2 separate regions of the Homo sapiens genome follow, and region 2 is linked to region 1. Evidence: promoter capture Hi-C in human tissues and cell types (Jung and others, 2019). All regions are on one chromosome and are shown on one strand. The core of a region is centred on a gene start or on the middle of the fragment in contact, and the rest is flanking DNA. Distances in the headings are between cores, read along the strand shown. Region 1 holds the start of ANKRD6 (ankyrin repeat domain 6). Region 2 overlaps ANKRD6 (ankyrin repeat domain 6).

Region 1 (7,279 bases), core at 780-3,279:
ATCTCTATACAAGAAGGAGGCCTTGGGAGTTGGAAGTGTGCCTTGTCTCTAAGCTGAGTTGGATCGCAGGCAGTCTGCTTTTACATGGAGCATATGCTTATCTGGAAAGGCTTTGGGGAGGCTGATGAGTTTAAGTGGGAGACTAAGATTAATTTTTGGTGCCACCATGAAAAAACAAGGAGTTAATAAATTCACATTTTTAAAAATTACCATTGGTTTATACCTCCCAACACTGCGACTAGTTGTTTTCTGGTCTCTTTAATTCCTCTTCATCCCTCTTCTACCCTTCCCCCATGTCCAGTATGACCTAGAGGGCAGAAAATACTCCCCAATTTTAATTTGTATCCCTAATTTTTAAAAAATTTTTTGTTACCATATGCTAAACAAATACTAAAGATGACAAAGTGTAACATGTATCGGTATAGACACACCTACTACACTCAAGAACAAGGCTGCAGACCAGTACAGTGGCTCACACCTGTAATCCCAACACTTTGGGAGGCTGAGACAGGAGGAGTTCGAGACCAGCTTAGGCAACACAGTGAGACTCTGTCTCTAGTAAAATAAAAAAATTCAAAATTAGCCAGGTGTGGTGGTCCCAGGCTGAGGTGGGAAGATCGGTTGAGCTAAGGAGGTCAAAGCTTACAGCCTGGGCAACAGAGCGAAACTCTGTCTCAAAACAACAACAACAAAAACCCCGCCAAGGCTGCTATTGGTGTTTTGGGGATGAGAAACCCCCAATCAGTATACCATGGATGGGACCACCTTGGACCCAGGTGTGTTTGTCTTCATTGCCCAAGTTCTTTCCACTTACACTGGCCTAACAGAACCTAAGCATGAATGAATTCAACATCCAACAGGTTCGCAAAAGGTGTCTAACACACAAGAGTACAATGCCAAGCATTTCATTCCCATCACTTCACTGCATGAACACAATACTACGAGGTTATGTACAATACCTGCAGTTTAGAGTTCTAAAAACTAAGGTTTAAAGAAGTGGGTTTTCCAAAGTCACACACCTAACAAGTGGTGGAGTCAGAACTCCATCTCACGGGCCCGAAGTGGCTCTTTACTACCACGTGACCCATCTCATGCTACCTCGCGGGGGAAACATTCTTGACCAGCTTTGAGACATTCAAGTCCCTCTTGGGTCACAAATAATGCTGCACTTCCCCTCCAGTCCCCGAGATCTACCGGAAGCAACACACTTAAAAGCCCAAGATAAGCTTGGGTGAGCTGATGTCTGGACCCAAACCAGACAGCACGCCGACTCTCTGGACCCCGGGAGATGCCACTTGCTGAGGCTTCGCCGATGGGGCTCCTGAGGGGTATCGGCCCCTCTCCTGCGACTGCACCCTAGTGCTGTCGTCCAGGGCGGGGAGGGACGGGGTCATTCGGAGGCGGCCGCAGGCCAGGGACCTACCCTCCTACGCGCCGCAGACCGCGGGGTACTCGGACCCCCGCCCCCACCGCCCTTCCTTCAAACTGCAAGCGAGCAGGAGAACGAGGGACGAGCCCCAGAAGAAAGTTCTCCACCTCCCTCGCCCGAAGTTCCATATTCCAGGGAGGCAACTGATGCCAGGCGAAGAGGGAGGCGCCCCGGGGGGACCCCCTCGCGCCGGGCGTTTTCGGAGGCCGCAGGCCAGGGGGCGAGGCGCGGTGTCCGGGTCTCCTCCGCGGGCAGTCGGCGATCCTGGGGTGCCGAGGGAGCAGCGCCCCCTTCCCCCGACAGCGTCCTCCCCGACCTGAGGCGCCCACCCCGGTGTAAGCGGGGGTCCCAGGGAGCCGGCGAGGTCGCCTGGTACCTTTCTCTCCCGCGCCGGACGTCCGCGCCGCAGGGACCAAGGCCGGCGACACGGTGGGGGGCGAGGGGCGAAGACGGGGACTGGCTCCCGCTGGCTCCGGCGGCCCCAGGGCCTCGGCGCCGCCCAGCGCCGTGCCTCCAGCCGCCCGCGCGCCAGGCAGCGCTCTCGGCTCCTGCGGGTTACCTGTGGCCGAGCCCGCCGCGTCCGCCGCCGCAGGGCCCTCTGCCCCGTCCCGCCGGCCCCGCCCCACCCCTGCCGGCGGCTCCTACGCCGGTGCCGCAGCGCCTCCCAGCGGCGAGCCGGGGCACGGCAGGGACCCTCGCGAGAGAGAGGTGGCACCGCGGAGGCCCTGGGGCTGGCCCCGATCTGCAGCCCTCTCCTGGGTGGGGCCACCGCCTTCTGAAGAGTGGGAGGAAGGGGGCCTATAGTAGGGTGAGGTTTTCCGCGTGGGGGTTGCCAGGAAGTGTATTGGGAGGGGAGGAGAATTAGCAGGAGGAACCTCCCACCTTCACTCAATTCGTGGCCAAGTGGATATTTCAATATAACCATAGCTCACTTAACTGGGGCTGCTCAGTACAAACTGAACAACAATGATGAATGACCCAGATTTATTGGGGTAGCTGGAGAGGGGAAAGGAAGCCTTTATTTCTAACAGCTTGACTATAAGTATCTTGTTGGAATCATCCCATATGGAAATGGCAAAAGCATTGAGCGAGCCTGACCCCCATATTCATATCACACTTTACATACCATTATCTCAGTCTGGTTTTGTCTATTTTCATTCACAGCCACTTCTTCAATACCTAGAAGAGCTCCCTGAACACAGGAAGCATTCAATAAGCTACTGTTGAATACATGTAAGATGGATGGGATCTCATTCCACCCTTTGAAGAAGCATGGACAGGTATCTGCTCTCCAAAGGCGGAGAGATGGAAGAGGAGGCAAGCAGCACCCTAAAATGGACTATCAATCTTACCTGAGGTTTTGGGACAAGCTTATCACGAATCTGATTTTTTTTTCTTTCTTGCTTAAAATTTTTTTTTGAGACGAAGTCTCACTCTGTCACCCAGGCTGGAGTGCAATGGCACCATCTAGGCTCACTGCAACCTCCGCCTCCCAGGTTCAAGTGATTCTCCTGCCTCAGCCTCCTGAGTAGCTGGGATTACAGGTGCCCGCCACCATCCCTGGCTAATTTTTGTATTTTTAGTAGAGATGGGGTTTCACCATATTGGTCAGGCTGGTCTCGAACTCCTGACCTCGTGATCCTCCAGCCTCGGCCTCCCAAAGTGCTGGGATTACAGGCATGAGCCACTGCACCCAGCCGACTTTTCTTATTCCCTCTGAAACAGGCCTGGTTTCCAGGAGAAAAGAAACATGATGATTTCTTCCTTTTCCTTAAGATGTTTGTTTCCCTCTCTCCTTCAGGGATCATTAGGCAGGAGAGATCCCAAGAGCCTGTTTCCACACTAGGAAGGGGAAGTTCTTGATTTTCTCCTACTGCTTCTGAAATTTTCCCAACCCCATAGTCACAGCTGCAGTTTTACCTAACAGGATGTGAAATCTCTCTTCTGAGTATCCTTTGGCCTTTTCCAGACTTTTTTTTCCCCCTTAAGATGGGGCCTTGCTGTGTCACCCAGGCTGAAGTGCAGTAGCCCACTGCAGTCTTGAACTCCTGGGCTCAAGCAATCCTCCTGCCTCTGCCTCCTGAATAGTTGGGATTACAAGTGTGCACCACCATGCCCAGCTAATTTTTTTATGTTTAACACAGAGGAGGTCAAGGCTGGTCTTGAACTCCTGGGCTCAAGTAATCCTCCGGCCTCAGCCTCCCAAAGTGTTGGGATTACAGGTGTGAGCCACCGCGCCCAGCCCTTCTTCAGATTTGTGCCCCATTCCTGTTGCTCTACACCTGGAGCTGATAGAAGAACACATTTCCTTTCTCTGCTGGCTTGTAGCTCCAGGTTTCTCTCCAGGCAGGTTACTAATGAGTTCCTAGATAACCCTCAAAGTCAAAGTTTGTACACATGACCTTTCTTTTTATTTTTTGAGATGGAGTTTTGCTTTTATTGCCCAGGCTAGAGTGCAGTGGTGCAATCTCGGCTCACTGCAACCTCCACCTTCCGGTTTCAAGCAATTCTCCTGCCTCAGCCTCCCAAGTAGCTGGGATTACAGGCGCCTGCCACCACGCCCAGCTAATTTTTTTGTATTTTTAGTAGAGACGGAGTTTCACCATGTTGGTCAGGCTGATCTCGAACTGCTGACCTTGTGATCCACCTGCCTCAGCCTCCCAAAGTGCTGGGATTACAGGTGTGAGCCACCGCGCCCAGCCACATGACCTTTCAATGTGATCATTTCTCTCTTGTACTTTTCCACATTGAGTTTTCCTAGCTAGTCCCTCGAATAAACTTCCAAAGATGCAAATGCTCAGTTTCCCTGATAGGCTTTTAAAACATCACCAGAAAGTCACATTGAGATGAGATTTTAAGTTATATTTGTGGGTAGTCAGAGCAATGACCCCGAAAGAAACAGAAAGCCCAAGCCAGCCTGCAAGACATGTGAGCGCTCCTGGGAACTGACTGGTCTGCTTTTGTTCCCAGACTTTGATTAATGGGGATTCCTGGCAGGAGGTCTCATGAGAGCCAAAGCAGGCAGTGGCTGAGCTGCTTGGAGATCTTGCTTGCTTATCTCCAAGTGGGCAGACAGTCTTTGGGCGACCAACGAAGAAGACTCCTAAATCTCCCTCTTTATGAGAAGGGCTCCCAGGCTGCAGCTCTGTTCTTGCCCCTACGTTCAGCTCAATCACAGCCAGCCTCTTATATTCACCCTAGCTCACCCTCCTTCTGCCTTGTGAGAAAGAAGTTTGCTCTGCAAATGATCATTTTCACTGCTTTGTGATAATATAATCTGCTCCTATTTTCAACAACATGTCTTTAATGAGCTGACTGCATTAGCTGTCTTTCATGTTGTTAGCTTCAACGCAGCCTTCAACACACCATTCTGGCTTCCATCCCTGCCACTCCACTGAAACTGCCTTTGCTAAAGCTTCCACTCAAGGAAGAACCCTTCCATCTGCCGCTCTATAATCATATCCTTCTCTTTCAGAGGAAACCACCATCCTAAGTTTTGTGTTAATAATTATGTTATCACAAATATATGTGTCCCTAAACACTACATGGTTTGTTTTTGCGTGTTTTTGAGCTTTTTTAAAATAGAATCATTCTGCATTATTCCCATGCAACTTGCAGCTTTTGCCCAGCATTATGTTTCTGAGATTCACCTATCTGATTTCTCTGTTATATAGGTATTTTGTTGTAAAAACATAACACAATTTAATTACCCATTCTACTTTTGGATGTTGGATTGGCTCCAGTTTTTGCTATTGCAAACAGTGTTGCTGTGAATATTCTTAAATATTTCTCCGATACATGTGTGTAAGAATGTTTTTTAGGATATATACCTAGAAGTGGAATCATCAGGTCTTAAGGTAAGTGCACGTTCAAATTTACTAGGTAATGTCAAACTGTCTAAACTGGTTGTTTTCTAAAATTGTTTTCTAAAGTGGTCATACCAATTTTCATTTCTAACACCTGTATATGAAAGTCATCTGGCCGGGCATGGTGGCTCACGCCTGTAAATCCCAGCACTTTGGGAGGTCGAGGCGGGTGGATCACGAAGTCAGGAGATCGAGACCATCCTGGCTAACACGGTGAAACCCCATCTCTACTAAAAATACAAAAAATTAGCCTGGCATGGTGGCGGACGCCTGTAGTCCCAGCTACTCGGGAGGCTGAGGCAGGAGAATGGCGTGAACCCAGGAGGTGGAGCTTGCAGTGAGATCGTGCCACTGCACTCCAGCCTGGGTGACAGAGCGGGACTCCGTCTCAGAAAAAAAAAAAAGAAAGTCATCCATGTCCCACAATCTTTGCCAGCACTTGTTTTCATCTAAATGATCTCTCATAATAGTTGTAGTTTGTATTTCCCCAATTACCAGTATGGCTGAGCATCTTTAATGTTTAATAGCTAGTCCTGTTTCCTCTTTTGTTAATTGATGGTGTCTTTTGCCTTGTTTCATGTGTTTTGAGAAGTCCTTTCTGACCCCAAGGATATAAAAATATTCTCCCATATTTTATTTCAAGTGTTACAATTTTGTCTTTCATGTGTAAGTCCACATTCTATCTGAAATTCATTTCTCCTTTCATTTGCAATGCCAGAACTCTCTTACAATGGATTTTTATACACATATAGGTTTGTTTTCGGTCCTCTATTTTGTTCCATTTGTCTATCCCTCTGCTAGCATCATACTGCCTGAAATCTTTGGTTTTCTTTTTTTTTTCTTTCTCTTTCTCTCTTTCTTTTCTCTTTTTTTTTCTTTTTGAAAGAGCCTCGCTCTGTTGCCCAGGCCAGAGCATAGTAACATGATCTTGGCTCACTGCAACCTCCTTCTCCTGGGTTCAAGTGATTCTCCTGCCTCAGCCTCCTGAGTAGCTGGGATTACAGTTGCATGCCACCACGCCCAGCTAATTTTTTTAAAATTATTTTTTAGTAGAGACAGGGTTTCACCGTGTTGGCCAGGCTGGTCTTGAACTCCTGACCTCAAGTGATCCACCCGCCTTGGCCTCCCAAAGTGCTGGGATTACAGGTGTGAGCCACTGTGCCTAGCCTGTGGTTTTATTTCAAGTGTTGATTTCCAAATATACAAGTCCTACCCTGACTTATTTCTCTTTTTTATTTATACAGATCTCAAGTATTCTTAGCTCTTTTCTCCTTCATAGACATTTTCTAATTCATTTGTTATGATAAACTTGAGATTTTAATTTGAAATCTCAAATCTCAGTAAATATATGTGGTGGATTGCATTGTTCATTCACAATTATTCGTACCCTTTCCATCTTTGCCATGCTTTTCTATAGGTCGGGTAAACCAGTCTGCTCCATTGGTTTTGGGCTTGTGTTGACTTGCCTTGGCAAACACCACATTGGAACAGAAGCTTAAAATATGTTGTATGCTTTAGTGCTTCCCCTACCTCCCTTGAGCTTCTGCCATTTGCCATGAGAATATCATGCCCCAAAGAGTGGCTGCACCTTCCGTGGGGATCCAGAATGAAAAGACAAATGGAATCATGCAGAGTCCAATATGGCCACAAAAAGTCTGCAGCCTTCATGTAATAGAAGCAAGAATGTTTCCTACTACTGCTATTTGGAAAAAATTGGCATCTTTATGATATTAAGTCATTGGTACAATGTGTGTGTGTGTGTGTGTGTGTGTGTGTGTGTAGCTCTGTGCAATTTTATCACATATGTAGTTTCATATAACCACCATTCTATCAAAATACAGAACTATGCCATCACCACAAAGAATCATCCTCATGCTACTTAATTATAGTTACACCCAACCCCCTCCCCGACACCATCCCTAATCTCTGACAACCACTAATCTGTTCTCCATCTCTATAATTTTGTCATTTTAAGAATGTTACG
Region 2 (6,427 bases), core at 1,422-3,921, 66 kb before region 1:
CCTGAAACTGAAAAAATATTTTTCAAATAAACAGGCAGTGTAAACCCCAGATATGCCTACTATCCTAATAATTACCATGGTTGCTATGAAGAAACATGGTGGACCTTGGGGGAAAAAAGTTACAAACATCTAACAACCAATGAAGAAACTGAATAAAAAGAGATTTAAGGCAAGTGTAATTTAATGTTAACAATAAGAATATGGGAGGCTAGGTGAAAGTGTTAATCATCTGCAGCAGCTGCCCACCAGCACTTTCAGCTGGAAACCAATGAAGGTGAAACGATCCACAAACCAGACCCATTAAAAGAACACATAAATCCTGTGGGGAGGTGATGAGATGGGACATATTATTATTCCTACCACTCAGTTCAAGTCACTGCCTTTTTTTTTTTAAGATAACTCCTTGTATCAGAGACTTAGCACCACGACACCTTCTAAATGAGAAATAAATGAAATAAGAATCATAGTTACTGCATCACACAAGCACAAAACACCCATTCACTTTGGTGTAACAAACAGTATTTTCAAGCATCTCCACATGGATGTTATCCATAAAGCCCCTCCCCAGGTATCTGAAATAAGTAGTTTTCTTTAATGCAAAAATACTGTATGGTACACAATCAACAGGCAACTTGCTAAATTTTGCTTCCTTCCAGAGAGATGTGCTGTGGATTAGTTACAGAGAGTAAAAGCCACGCTGTGAATAAGCCTAGCATTCTCGTGGCTGGGAGCTCTGCTGAGCTCTTCAAAGGAATGTGTTTCTAAAGAATGTTTAAGTAAGCTTAAGGAGTTCCAAGCAACCCAATACTGACATATCTGGCATGCTGTATTTGCCAAGAAGGCATCCCTCTCAAATGCAAATGCAGATCAGAGCTCCACTGACTCCAAGCTCAACTTGAGGAAGGGAGACACAGAAGACTTTTTGCTGAAAGTATTTGTGTTTTTTCATAAGCATGTGTTCCTTAAAGAACAAAACCCTGGAAATACGTAGAAACAAGCCTTAGGCTTCCATAAGGGAAAACAATTAATCGTTAAGTCTTGATTTTGCAGGTACAAATTATGTTCCATATAAAGACAAGTAAACCTCAATGACGAAAAGCATCCCAAGTATCACATGTTCTGAAATTATGATGCAGGCAAAAGCTACTCCTAAGAAATGGCCTCAGGTGCAAGCCCCGTCTTGATGAGCATTCCTACCAAAGTGTCTTTCAGATACAGTAAGAGCTGTGCTTTTTTCTGTGCTAGAAAAAAAAAAAAAAAAAAAAGACTAATTGGGGACAGTCCTCTTCTGACTGTGTTAAGTGCATCACATTATCTTTATTATTTACTCAGCTCACAACCCATTGCCTTGGCCTGAAATAGATTAAGTTGGACCTAATAAATCAAAATACAACAAGAATCAACAGAAACTTAAAACTACGGCCCACAGTCCTGGATGCTAGCTCATCTATTATTAATGCCTAAAGCCACTAAAAGCCTCATAGCTCTAATGAGAATAGCAATTAACTTTGTTGTAGCTATTTACAATTTCCAAAGTGCTTTCCCATCCCACAGCCCCTTTAATCTCCTGGGAGATTAGGGACCTGGGAGGAGGGCGTTAGGCTCTTCCCCCATTACACGATTTCTGAGAACTCTCAGAAATTCAATGGCTTACTGAAGAAGACACATCTGGTGATACAGCCAGGACTTTTTCAATTCCAGTTACTATTCGTTTTTTAATGTATTGCTTTATTAAAAAATATATCATATGACATTATTAATAGTAGGACTGCCTGGTGAAAATTTTGCAGCCTGATGCATTTTTCTAACCATGGTATATTCATTCCATTTCCAGAGGCTGCCTGTACTGTGATATTTTTCATGCCAGGAACTTCAGGGTAGTATTTCTATCTTCAATATCACAGCACAGGCAGCCTCTGGCTTCTCTGCTTGGAATTCCACCTCCAAGTAAAGGGGAAGAAAAAAAGGAGAGTGAGTGATCTGTGGCTCTCTCCTGGGAGGCAGGGCTGGGAGCTCTAGAACTTAGCCCCTGTGTTGCTCAAGTGACCAGAAGCTGTCTCAGTGACAGAAGCCTCTGCTTCCTTCCTCTAGAAGCATCAAGGTCATCAACTGGAGCAAGATAAAAGAGCCACCAGAGGTGGGAAAGGTGACCATTCACATCACCCCAAGCCCAGGCCTCATAAAACTGGGGTGTGATGGAATCTGGAGAGACAGTGAACAAATTATAAGCCCAGATGCCTCGGAGGCTTTTCAGAGTACGATTTTATAGAGGCTTTAGGGATTTCAGTGGGCATTTCATGCTTTTTGTCTCCATTACTCTTTGGTTTGCAGTGCATTTGTCTTCTGTTTGGAATGCTGTTTTGATGCTGAAGTCTTGAGGAATCAAAGTGGGCATCATAACAGAGTTGAAAGGGAAGACAGGCTAAACTGAGGAGCAGCAGGGAAAGGGGACCGTGAGGGTGTTTAGGTTGTCCAAGTCAGTACAGCAGTGTCTCAAGAGCCCTGGGTGGCTTGCTCTGTGTAGGACTAAATCACGGAAGCAGACTAACGTTTCTTACCATGCATTATGAACTGGTATTGTGAACAGGAACATTTGTGGTACGGCACTGTCTCACACAATACAAGCTATTGGCACCCCTGGCCTGCAGGTGCTAAATAACAGTAGCACCCTCCCCCCAGCACTGCGACCCCAACCCACTGGTTGAGAAACGTTAAACTAGATAATGTCTAGGACTTCCTATCCCTAAAATTCCTCAAGTCCATGACTAGATGACTAGACCAGAATGGCATCAGGCGTGACAGTGCTCTGAGGTGGCAAAAAGGTGACAAACACATAAGTATCAATGAAGCATGTAATCAGCTGCAAGTAACAAAAAAGCAGGCTCACCAGGCCTCACAAAATAGAGGCTTCTTTTTCGCCCATATGAATAAGTCCTGGAGAAGGCAGTCTACAGTTGGTGACAGTTTACCATTACCCTCAGAAACTTAGGCTCCTTTTATTTCTAAATTTTGCCAGCCTTAATGTGATGGCTTTTATCCTTATGTCACCTCATGTTTTCAAAAAGGCTGCTCTACATCCGGGTGTTACATCCAGGTCCAGACAGGAAGAAGGCAAAGTCTTTTTCTACCTTAGATATGTCTTTTTATTCAGGAAGGGAGACCTTTCCCTACAGACTTGTGCTTGGCCAAACTATATCACATAACCACTCCTGGCTGGAAGGTGGTTAGGAAAATTGAACATTGAGATTTCCAGTCTCAACAGTAGAGGAAGGCAAGTGAGAGAGTGGTTGGGAATGGGCCCTGAGAAAGCCAACCTCAAGCATCTACCTCAGGAATCTTCATCCAATTGTGCTCACATTCTGCAAAGAAGCTGGCACATATCTCATACTCAATAATTATGAAAACATTAATGAATGGTCCACAAAGCTATTCAGGAGCTTATTTCTCCTTGCTTATTCTAATTCAAAGAATCCATCTAATCCATAGCAAACTGGGCTCCCAAATCAACAGAAACAATGACCGGATTGTATTCTCACCTTGGTCACAATTTCAGATTAGCAAATTTGAAATTATCCGTGTTCACTTCTCTGCATAGCAGGTTTCAAGAGAACACTTCACATCATTCTCTATAACACATCTCTCTCTACCCTTAAAACAAAACAAAACTTGGCATTTAGAATAAAAGCAAAATGTAAACAAGGTAAAAAAAAATATATATATATAAAGGGAAATCTATTATCTGCACAGACTGATGTTTGAATTAAGTACTATAATTATATATTACAGACCTAGCAGATATATAAGATTTATACATCATTATATCCCAGATTGTCATAGGTAGTGCCTTAAACATAGCAAGAATTTTATATTTTAATTTAATGTTTAGTTCTCTTACCTTCCCCCTTACCTAGGTAGCCACATGTTCTCAAAGTATTTTGCTCCTTAGCTATAGAAAAGAATGAGATAAGTACAAATGCATATATTAAAATATTTATAAAGTAATAACACTAGCTTCAAAATAACCCAAAGAAGTAGGAAAAGTGGGTGGAAGAGGGAGTAAGACTGACCATGGCTTCATAATTACTGAATCTGGGAGTGAGGTACTTGTGGGTGACTTACACTAGTCTAATTGTGAAATTTGCCACAATTCAAAGTTTTGTTTTTATTTGTTTTAAATCCCTCTGGAACTGATATTAACATATACTTCGTGGATGAACCTCAAAAACATTATGCGCAATGAAAGTAGCCAGAAACAAAAAACCATATACTATCTGATTCTATTTATATGTAATGTCTAGAAAAGGCAAATTTATGGAGGCAGAAAGGGGACCAATGGTTGCCTGGAGCTAGGGGTGGTAGTGGGGACTGATCACTAAATGGCATTAGGAAACTTTTTGGAGTAATGAAAACGTTCTCAAACTGGATTCTGATGATGGTTGCACACTGTGTGAAATTACTTTAAAAATCACCAAACTGCATAGTTATAATGGATAAATTTTATGATATATAAATTATACCTTAATAAAACTATTTTAAAATTCGAAAGCTCTGAAGATACACAGATACACAGAGAGAGAGAGAGAAAAAAACATATCCACTGTTATTTGCTAATACTACACTTAGGAAGACAAGACTTGCAGGTAAAGTGTTTAAAAGACACAATTTAGAAAACAAGACAGTTTCCTAGGATTTCAAAGATCCCCTATTATTGTGGAAAAGCAGCATCTAGTCATATATACCATTTCTTGTAGTCTTCCTACAAAGCAGAAAATTATAAATAGAAAAAGAAAAAAGGAAACAGAGGTCTGTTTTTGGTCCAGCTGAAGCAGTCAGCCCCTACTTTACGCAGCAGAACTCACCAGGAGGTAGGAACTTACCAGGACAAGGAGGATAACAGTCACAAAGCAGGAGACAGGTATGCTGAGTGAATGAATGGATGAATAAAGAAATAGTAGTTTAAAGCTTCAAATTCAATTTTAAATATCCTAAATGATCAGCCTGTACCAAAGTAATTTTTGTAGATTCAGAAAACCATGAATGGAAACCTGGTTTTTGTTGCAAAGTAATTTTTTGTTTGTTTTTTAAACTTTTGGGAGAATCTAATCTGTTCATAATCACCTCAGATCAAACCTACCTGATAAGGAGGGAAACAATTAATTTGAAAGTTCAGAGAGAAAGCATCCCTGACAAGTTGGAATTTATACAAAACAGAAAAGAAGAAGCTATAAACTCACCCAGAGCAGGGGACATTCTGTTTGGGGTAGAAGCTTTGGCTGCTGCAAAGTAAGAAGTGGAATAATTTTTCATCAATATTCTCAGATGCTCTATTAAACAATAAAGGTGAGTGTTTATGCTTAGATGTTATGACAAACTTCTTATTTGCAGACCTAAGTTTTCCAAATTCTGAAACATAATAAAAGTTTGTTGTCACTTGAAAACAGACAGTAGGATTTAAGTTTTATCTTTCTCCCGGATCACCTGAGATCAGGAGTTTGAGACCAGCCTGGCCAACATGGCAAAACCCCATCTCTACTAAAAATACAAAAAATTAGCTGGGTGTGGTGGCAGGTGCCTGTAATCCCAGCTATTCGGGAGGCTGAGGCAGGAGAATTGCTTAAACCCGGGAGGAGGAGGTTGCAGTGACCCGAGATCGCACCACTGCACTCCAGCCTGGAGAAGAGAGAGAGACTCCATCTCAAAATAAATAAATAAATTAATTAATTAATTTTATCTTTCCCCAGGGCACATCCCTGAAAGGGCAAAGGGAGAAAAGACAGACTTCCTGGGCCTGGTCCCGACGGTACTACCGGCATATCTCTGCCCACATCTCTGTGTTTACACGTTGACTTCAGTGAGTTTCCTGCAAGCTTGTTATCAACAGGATCCCAGCTGGTAATTTACTCTGCCCTCTGCCATTTAATCATTCCAACAGAACCTCACTTACGGCGTACCCTAGAAGACCTCACACCCCTTCACAGGCAGAATTCTGTTCTGTTATTCATTCAAACATTGTCTTCCCAAAGGAAATTCCTAAGTACTTTAATTATGGTGGGGGGGGGGGCAGTGTGGAAAAAAGCTTGCTAATCCCCATTGTCAGTGTTCCTGAGACCTGGAGAAGCACAACTCCGGAGTCTTCATTTTGTAGATGGGAGACAGGCTTAGTAAGATGTCCTAAAGACTGAAGGTGGCCACCAGTTAGCTCCAGGATTCTTTCTCTTTCTTGGGGGCCCATGGAATTGCATATGAACATGTACACTGGGGTCAACAGCATGGACTCCAAATCCTGATGCCACAATTACTACACAAGAGAATGTGCGCAAGTCAGAAACTTTCTGAGCCTCAGTTTCCTCACCTAAAAAAAACAGAGATAATACCTATAACTTGCAGGTGGTTGTAAAGGTAAAATGAAATAAACAAAAAGTGTCCT

Evidence for each region. Contacts are between HindIII fragments. The study calls those that stand out against the background at their distance.
Region 2: a fragment that was not itself captured here is called in contact with the fragment with the promoter of ANKRD6 in region 1 in 2 of the 25 tissues and cell types used here (aorta and heart left ventricle).

Annotation. Positions count from the first base shown.
Region 1 is chr6:89,427,902-89,435,180 of GRCh38, reverse strand. ANKRD6 (ankyrin repeat domain 6) reads right to left here and starts at 2,029. Exons shown (of 16, transcript NM_001242809.2): 1 at 1,806-2,029. LOC124901360 (a long non-coding RNA gene) reads left to right here. Exons shown (of 2, transcript XR_007059675.1): 1 at 1-1,764; 2 at 2,594-4,973. RefSeq lists a silencer at 1,758-2,237. The HindIII fragment of the contact is 2,888 bases long and covers 935-3,822 here.
Region 2 is chr6:89,495,811-89,502,237 of GRCh38, reverse strand. All of the region lies in intron 1 of ANKRD6 (ankyrin repeat domain 6), which reads right to left. Among named protein-coding and RNA genes, the nearest start is that of ANKRD6, 66 kb to the right of the region's middle. The HindIII fragment of the contact is 4,889 bases long and covers 227-5,115 here.